Linked DNA regions of Homo sapiens: region 2 is linked to region 1. Evidence: promoter capture Hi-C in 16 types of primary human blood cells and fetal thymus (Javierre and others, 2016). All regions are on one chromosome and are shown on one strand. Each heading gives the region's core, a stretch centred on a gene start or on the middle of the fragment in contact. The rest is flanking DNA. Distances are from core to core; before and after follow the strand shown.

Region 1 (4,290 bases), core at 1,216-3,715:
GAATGGGCCATGATGACAATGGCGGTTTTGTGGAATAGAAAAGGGGGAAAGGTGGGGAAAAGATTGAGAAATCGGATGGTTGCTGTGTCTGTGTAGAAAGAAGTAGACATGGGAGACTTTTCATTTTGTTCCGTACTAAGAAAAATTCTTCTGCCTTGGGATCCTGTTGATCTGTGACCTTACCCCCAACCCTGTGCTCTCTCAAACATGTGCTGTGTCCACTCAGGGTTAAATGGATTAAGGGCGGTGCAAGATGTGCTTTGTTAAACAGATGCTTGAAGGCAGCATGCCCGTTAAGAGTCATCACCACTCCCTAATCTCAAGTACCCAGGGACACAAACACTGCGGAAGGCCGCAGGGTCCTCTGCCTAGGAAAACCAGAGACCTTTGTTCACTTGTTTATCTGCTGTCCTTCCCTCCACTATTGTCCTATGACCCTGCCAAATCCCCCTCTGCGAGAAACACCCAAGAGTGATCAATTAAAAAAAAAAAAAAAGTGGCCATGCTGGGTGCGGTGGCTCACACCTGTAATCCCAGCACTTTGGGAAACCGAGGCAGGCAGATCAGTTGAGGTCAGGAGTTTGAGACCAGCCTTGCCAACATGGTGAAACCCCATCTCTACCAAAAATACAAAAAAATTCTCCAAGCATGGTGGCGCACACCTGTAATCCCAGCTACTCGGGAAACTGAGGCACGAAAATCACTTGAACCCGGGAGGCAGAGGTTTCAGTGAGCAGAGATTGCACCACTGCACTCCAGCCTGGGTGACAGAGCGAGACCCTGTCTCAAAAAAAAAAAAAAAAAAAAAAGAAGTGCTCTATTTCAGGAGAAACTGGCACTTTCTGAGCCTACTCTCCCCTAATGCCAGCTCTCCTGCTCACCCCACCAGGGTCAGAGCCAACTTTGCCTCCAATTCATAGTCCTTTAAGTAAGAATCCTTTTAATATGCCCTAATGTCCCAACCAAACTAATCTTGAAAGCTTCTATGTAGATACAAAGTGCTCCTGAAATCCCTATCCTCAGAAATGCTTCTGAGCCAAATGGGCTCTGAACCCTAAACAACCGTGTCCATGTATGTGGCAAGAGCTTGTGAAAAACAAAGCTGGGCCAGGCGCAGTGACTCACAACTGTAATCCTAGCACTTTGGGAGGCTGAAGTGGGCAGATCACTTGAGGTCAGGAGTTCAAGACCAGTCTGGCGAACATGGCGAAACCCTGTCTCTACTAAAAATACAAAAAGTAGCCGGGCGCGGTGGCTCACACCTGTAGTCCCAGCTACTCGGGAGGCTGAAGCAGGAGAATCACTTGAATCCAGTTGGCGGAGGTTGCAGTGAGCCCAGATCACGCCACTGTACTCCAGCCTGGGCAACAGAGCGAGACTTGGTAAGAAAGAGAAAGAAAGGAAAGAATGAAGGAAGGAAGGAAGGAAGGAAGGAAGGAAGGAAGGAAGGAAGGAAGGAAGGGAAGGAAGGGAAGGAGTCTCGCTCTGTCACCCAGGCTGGAGTGCAACGGAGCGATCTCGACTCACTGCAAGCTCCGCCTCCCGGGTTCGCGCCATTCTCCTGCCTCAGCCTCCCGAGTAGCTGGGACTACAGGCGCCCGCCACCACGCCCCGCTAATTTTTTGTATTTTTAGTACAGACGGGGTTTCACCGTGTTAGCCAGGATGGTCTCGATCTCCTGACCTCGTGATCCGCCCGCCTCGGCCTCCCAAAGCGCTGGGATTACAGGCGTGAGCCACCGCGCCCGGCTGACCAAAGGTTTCTTGGTCCGCATTCTGCTTCTGTGGAATGAGCCAGGAGCCAGTTAGGCCTGATTTGACATCTGATTTCCGGAGGAAAACCCAGACTCTGCCCTGGGCAACAAACTGAATCCTGAACTTGAGGTCACAGGGCAGGTGTGAGGAGCGGAGAGCAGCAAGAGTGAAAGGGAGGCCTGTGGTCATTCCATACACACAAGAGATCAGTTCCTCCAAGGTCAGGGGACAGAGAGCACAGGGATCCAGCGCCAAGCGCAAGGCCCCCAGAAGAAGCCAGAGAGTCGGGGAGGGGGCGGGGGGGAATCGGTCCCAGCAGGTGGGAAGGATTCTGGGACCAGACCTAAGGGATCATGAGCACAGCTGCTGCAGGCAGACGGGCCCCTGGAGAAGCTGGGGACAAGCTGGAATAGAGACTTCATTGCGGGAAGGGCTGTCAGGGAGGCCTCCTGGGGTGGAAAAGGGTGGTCAGGAGGCTCCTGGAGGCGGCGCGGCCCCGGGGGTCCAACTCACCTGGGGCCCGGCCACCGCGCTCTCGACCGCCGCCTCTGCCCGCGCAGCACGGGCACAGCTCGCCAGCACTGCGAACCCGGATGGGTCGTCGGGCGCGGCCCTCAGCAGAGCTGCCTTCACAGATGTGGTGCCCAGGTCAATGCCGAGGGTGATCGGCCGCGCAGCCATTATCTCCCTGACCCGCGCAGCTCCAGTCTGCAGCCAGCGGCCCCACAAGTCCGCGCTCTTCGCCCAGGGGGGCGGGGCAGGGGCGGGGAGTCGCCTGCCAATCTTTCAGCCACACCCAACATGGAGGCTTCTCGTCTTCCCACTGGCCGGGGAAGGCGAGCTTCCACGCAACCTCTCGGCGGGCCCCGGCTATAGGCGGAGAGGCGGCGGAAGGCGGGACCTAAAGGGGGCCCCGCCCCACGGGCTCTGATTTCCGCCCAATGGAGGGCGGTCTGAGCTTCGCTCACGAAAGGAGCCGGGAGGCGCTGGCGGCTCCAAGAGTCTCTGTGTCCCTGGCAGCGGACCTCATCTTCCCTCACGCCGGAGCCCCGATCTCTGCGCCCCGGCCCGACCCAGCTGCGCTCTGTCCGTCTAAGACGCGCGGAAACTACAACTCCCAGAGCTCATCTCGCCGAGATCCGGCCCCACGAGTCAGGTGGCGGAGGTCAGGTGACAGCGGACCCGCCTCTCCCAAAGTCTAGCCGGGCAGGGGAACGCGGTGCATTCCTGACCGGCACCTGGCGAGGCTCATGCGTCCCGTGAGGGCGGTTCCTCGAGCCTGGGGGCGCTCAGGTGAGAGCGGACGCGGCCTCCCCTGTTTCCCAGGCGGACCCCTTGAGGCACAGCAGGTCAGCGGGGCAGCCTGCCGGGGGTCCAGCGCCCTCAGCCGCGGCGGGCTCCTTTCCCCGCCACCAGTGCTGGCCTCGCGACACGGGACAACCCCCGGGTGGAAGGGCCCGAGCGGTGGTCAGCCGAGGCAGGGGCAGCGGGCTGCCGGGGTGGGTGCCGTTCCCAGCCCCTTACCTTCTGCTCAGTTGCCGCCTGGGTCTCGGTTGGGGAATTTGCAGATTGCTTTGGAGACGCTGAGAGAACCTTTGCGAGAGCGCCGGTTGACGTGCGGAGTGCGGGGCTCCGGGGGACTGAGCAGCACGAGACCCCATCCTCCCCTCCGGGTTTTCACACTGGGCGAAGGGAGGACTCCTGAGCTCTGCCTCTTCCAGTAACATTGAGGATTACTGTGTTTTGTGAGAGCTCGCTAGGCGCCCTAAGCAACAGAGGTAACCACTTTATATCCTTGTTTCTCAACCTCGTTATTCCTACCTACCCCCTTCCCATAAAATTTAATACCACTAGTACGCTGTGTATTTGTTTCTGTGGCCACAAACCATTGTAATAGCTAGATTTCTTCACTACCACCCCAAGCCAATTTTTTTTTTTTTTTTGAGATGGAGTCTGCAGCCTCTGTCACCCAGGCTGGAGTGCAGTGGCGCGATCTCGGCTCACTGCAACCTCCGCCTCCGGGGTTCAAGCGATTCTCCTACCTCAGCCTTCCGAGTAGCTGGGACTACAGGCCTGAGCCACCATGCCCAGCTAATTTTTGTATTTTTAGTAGAGATGGGGATTCACCATGTTGGCCAGGCTGGTCTCGAACTCCTGACCTCAGGTGATGCGCTCACCTCGGCCTCCCAAAGTGCTGGGATGACAGGCGTGAGCCACCGCGCCCAGCCTACCCCCAGCCAATTTTAGTCCCACTTGACAATGCGTGCTTTACATCTCCTCATTTAAGTCCTGTGAGGTAGTTACCACCTCCTTGTTTGGCACCACAAGGTCGCATAAGTAATAAATAGGTCAAGCCTGTCTCCAGTGCACACAGCCCTTGCCACTATTTGTGTACCCTCTCCAAAAGCAGGAGACCCAGGGAGTTCCAGGTCGTAGAACAGAGGACAGGACCAACTCATACCTGGCAGACAGGAGCTGCCACACTAGACCCCTAGCCCCAGGTTGCTCCTGGGAAGGGACTGAATGGGTGAGGAGC
Region 2 (4,290 bases), core at 626-3,125, 790 kb before region 1:
CGACGCCTTCCTGCCTCCCTCTTCCCCCTCCTCTGTCTTCCTCCTAAGGGGGCATCCCAGAGACGCAACTGTGCTGTGGCCCAGCAGGGGGCGCTGATGTACCTGCCAAGAGTGGAGGTGTCTTAGCACAGGTGTGAGCGTTCAGCTGTGTGCGAGCGGGCTTCAGAGTGATATCCCAGAGCAGGTGTGTGTATGTGTGTACCCTCAAAGGCAGAAGAGAGCGGGGGTGCTGGACCGTCCTGTCCAAGGCTCTGTTTATAACCCTTGCGTTGTCCCAAAGGTTGTGTGGTCCATGGAATAGCTGGGACCCTGCCCGTGGAGGGGAGGGGCAAGGCGTTTGAAGACATCTGGTTTTCATCAAAGGCCCCACCCTCCTTGCTCCATGGCCCCCCTCGCCCCCACCCACCCCCAATCCCAGCCCAGAACGGTGGCAGTCATTCTGCCCAGCAGTGGGGCGCTGGGAGTTGGTGGCTGGGTGGGGCGACGAGGTGGCGTCTGCTGCAGGCTGGCTCTCTGACGAGGGGCACGGGGATTGGGGCTGATTCCCGCTTTCTCATGGATATGTCTCCTGGAGCCGGTTCCCAGGCACAGAAGGCCCTTTTCTTCAGGGCCAGGCATGCGTGTCTGTCTGCCTCAACCCACTGGCCCCTCAGGAACGGGCTGTGCAGCTGTCTGCGCTCTGTTCATGATTAACTTCGCTGTCTCCCGCCCCAGGCCTGATTCCCACCCAGGCCCCCTCAGCCTTTGGAGTTCCCCTGGACTGGAAGAGAGACCTGGGCTGGCAGCTGCCGGGCACTTTGTTCTCTGGGACTGTGAGCTTTGGAGGCTGGAACAGGCCATGGAGGTCCTGAGAGCTGGGACGCCGTGGGGCATAAGTTGGGTGAGGTGAGACCTGCAGGAAGACCCCTTCTCTGCCGTCAGAGACTTCTGCCGTCCTCATTTCCTGCGGTCTGCATGTATCCAGCTTTCTCAGCCCACCCCAAAGTGCCTCATGAATGTGGCCTTGGAGCAGAGTAATGTGAAAATTCTTCCCTGTCCGTTCTCTTTCGAACTGTGATTTCTTCAAGAACAGTGCCTTGGTTTGGCGCAGGTGTGTCACTAACACCTAACACTGCCTGCTTTTTTTTTTTTTTTTTTTGAGATGGAGTCTCGCTCTGTTGCCCAGGCTGGAGTGCAGTGGTGTGATCTCGGTTCACTGCAACCTCTGCCTCCCGGGTTCATGCCATTCCCCTGCCTCAGCCTCCCGAGTAGCTGGGATTACAGGCACCCGCCACCACGCCCGGCTAATTTTTTGTATTTTTAGTAGAGACGGGGTTTCACCATGTTAGCCAGGATGGTCTCGATCTCCTGACCTCATGATCCGCCCGCCTCGGCCTCCCAAAGTGCTGGGATTACAGGCGTGAGCCACTGCGCCTGGCCCGCCTGCTTTTTTAAGGAAGGTACTTCAAGCTTAGAGCCTTTGTCAGGCAACAGTATTGAGGCAGAACTTAATAAATTTATGTTTGTTTTCATGGTAGGAAGGGCAAGTGATAATGGATTTTCATTTAGGGTTGCAATAACGTTTTCTTTTAAAATTAAGTAAAGGCAGCCGGGCGCTGTGGCTCATGCCTGTAATCCCAGCACTTTGGGAGGCCAAGATGGGCGGATCACGAGGTCAGGAGATCGAGACCATCCTGGCTAACACGGTGAAACCCCGTCTCTACTAAAAATACAAAAAAAACTAGCCGGGCATGGTGGCGGGCGCCTGTAATCCCAGCTACTCGGGAGGCTGAGGCAGGGGAATGGCATGAACCCGGTTGGCGGAAGTTGCAGTGAGCCAAGATCTTGCCACTGCACTCCAGCCTGAGGGATGGAGCAAGACTCCACCTCAAAAAAAAAAAAAAAAAAAAATTAAGTAAAGGCCAGGCGCGATGGCTCACACCTGTAATCCCAGAACTTGGGAGGCCAAGGCAGGCGGATCACCTGAGGTCAGGAGTTCGAGATCAGCCTGGCCAACATGGCGAAACCCCGTCTCTACTAAAAATACAAAATTAGCCCGATGTGGTGGCGAATGCCGGTAGTCCCAGCTACTCAGGAGGCTGAGCCAGGAGAATCGCTTGAACCCAGGAGGTGGAGGTTGCAGTGAGCCAAGACCGTGCCATTGCACTCCAGCCTGGGCGACGAGCAAAACAACGTCTCAAGAAAAAAAAAAAAAAAAGTGAAAAAGTAAGTTGATGTAATTAAAGCAAAATTATAAACAGCAGAGCAGCATGACACTAAGACAAAGAATTATGAAGGAGGTGGCGTGTGGCCCAATTGTGGGAAGCTTTGGCTGGGCTAACTGCACACACTGGCTGGAAATGGTCTTCTTTTGAGGTTTGGAGTGTGTTAACCCTGTTTGTTTCGGGCAGGGATGGTCTTCCATTTTTCTTTCTTGCCCTGGTCTCTTGCATAAAGCTGGACATACTGTACATGTTTAATAAATGCTGGTGGAATGGGTAAGCCTAGCATTGATGGTTGTTCCAGTCTCTGCTATTGATGGGTTTTCTTGTGCTTTGGGGTCCCCTCTGTGGGGTGTGGGTGTGATGGGCTGTGGGGGCTGGAGTGGGAGTTAAGAGGGGAAATTGCTGTTTATGCACCAAAGGTGGCGAGCTTGTAGGGCAGGGGCAGAAGGATGGGACCTCTCACTGCCAGGAAAATTCTACCTCTTAGAGACTCAGGAGTCAGGGGCTGAGAGGTTACGATTTTTTGGGGGACAGCCTTGTGTTTGCAGTGACACTGGGCTTGTAGAAGGACTTAGAGGGCTGGGAACCCCAGAATAAGAGAATGAATAATGGAACCTGCATGGTGGATTTTGTGCCTTCATCATCCCAATTCCCTGTTGTAGTTGTTTGGAGAGGTGGGGTCTCACTATGTTGCCCAGGCTGGTCTAGAACTCCTGGTCTCAACTCAAGTGATCCACCTGCCTGCCTCGGCCTTCCAAAGTGCTGGGATTACAGGTGTGAGCCACCCTGTTACCCACTGTGCACTTGACCTGAACTAGCTCCCACACTCTCACCTGCTGGGAAGGAGGATCAGGCCTTCCGTTGAGGTGCAGCCTTCTGTGTGTGGGTAAAATACACCCAACGCTAGGATAGACCTAAGCCAGCGCCCTCATCACCTTCCCTGCCATCTAACTGAAGCGGTCCATCAGCTAACCTGTGGGTCCTCGGGTGCTGTGTGCTATAGCGCGGTGGGAGAGAGGGGAAGAGAAGCTCTGGGTTGCATGCTGCTGGGAGCTCTTCCCTTTTCTCTACCAAGGACACTCATTTTATTCTTTTTCCAGACCAATTCTTAAGTCACTACTGGCATAGTACTTGCAGCCTGCCTAACCGCCAATCTCAGGAGTGGGGCCCGGGTCATTCAAATCTCTAGCTATAAAAAGATGTCCATGGCTATCTATATCTCTGATCCCCCACAACCCCGGCAGGGAGGGGGTGGGGGTGGGGGTGGGGGGCACAAGGCCAGTGGTAACGGCTGCTTCATAAATAGACCAGGTGCATTTAAGAACCACCCTGGGGCTTCCTCCCCTCCACCCCAACTCCAGTGCCAGCAGGAAGCTGTGGGCATTGGAGAGGCAGGGCTGAAGCCTCAGGCCCTCGAATTCGTTTGCAGTCCCTCTCCCCTCTCCACCCAGCATGGTCCCCTCCCTGCCTGGATTTTCTGTGTTTGCTTGAACACCAGACTATTAAAAACAAAACAAAAAACAAAACAACAACAAAAAACAAGGCAAATTGCCTCAGGGGGAACCTCTTCGGCCCCAAAGATGGACTAATTGGCTTGTTCTAATTCCTTTCAGCCCCCTGCCCACTTCCTTTTCCCTAGAGGGGCAAAGCTGTGAGTGATGCTTCGGAGGGGTGAGGCGGGAGGGGGCTGGGAGGCTGGGCAGCACCTGGAAGTGGATGAGGGCGATTGTGAGCGAGGCCCCGCGCCGATGGTAGGGACCAGGCCACAGCCCTTTCCCCAGGAGCCGGCGCGACCTTCCGACCTTCCGACCTTCCGCCCTTCCTTTCCGAAGGAGATGAGGCTCGCGCGCGGCTGGCAGGGGCGGGAGGGACCACGCGACGAGTGCGCAGCGGCCAGGCCCGGGTGGGCGCGGGGAGGGCGGAGTGGGGGGCGCCCGGCCCGCCAGGAGGAAGCGGGGTCGCCGTGAAGTTGGTTATTGAACCCATGTGGAGTCAAACTCCCAGGGCCGGGAGAGCCAGTGTTCGCGGGGAGCCGACCCCAGCCCACTCTGCATCCCAGCTCGGCGATCCTTGCGCCGACTCTGCG

The links. Contacts are between HindIII fragments. The CHiCAGO score rates a contact against its expected background, and 5 or more counts as called.
Region 2: a contact is called between a fragment that was not itself captured here and the fragment with the promoter of SHPK in region 1, in 1 of 17 cell types (endothelial precursors). The highest score is 5.5, in endothelial precursors.

The regions. Positions count from the first base shown.
Region 1 is chr17:3,633,785-3,638,074 of GRCh38, forward strand. It overlaps SHPK (sedoheptulokinase), which reads right to left and starts at 2,466. Exons shown (of 7, transcript NM_013276.4): 1 at 2,268-2,466. The coding sequence starts at 2,435. It overlaps CTNS (cystinosin, lysosomal cystine transporter), which reads left to right and starts at 2,976. Exons shown (of 12, transcript NM_004937.3): 1 at 2,976-3,047; 2 at 3,323-3,532. RefSeq lists enhancers at 18-883, 2,722-2,971 and silencers at 2,182-2,241, 3,252-3,341. The HindIII fragment of the contact is 10,697 bases long and covers 979-4,290 here.
Region 2 is chr17:2,848,881-2,853,170 of GRCh38, forward strand. The region is part of intron 2 of RAP1GAP2 (RAP1 GTPase activating protein 2); the gene reads left to right. Among named protein-coding and RNA genes, the nearest start is that of RAP1GAP2, 55 kb to the left of the region's middle. RefSeq lists an enhancer at 637-1,227. The HindIII fragment of the contact is 856 bases long and covers 1,448-2,303 here.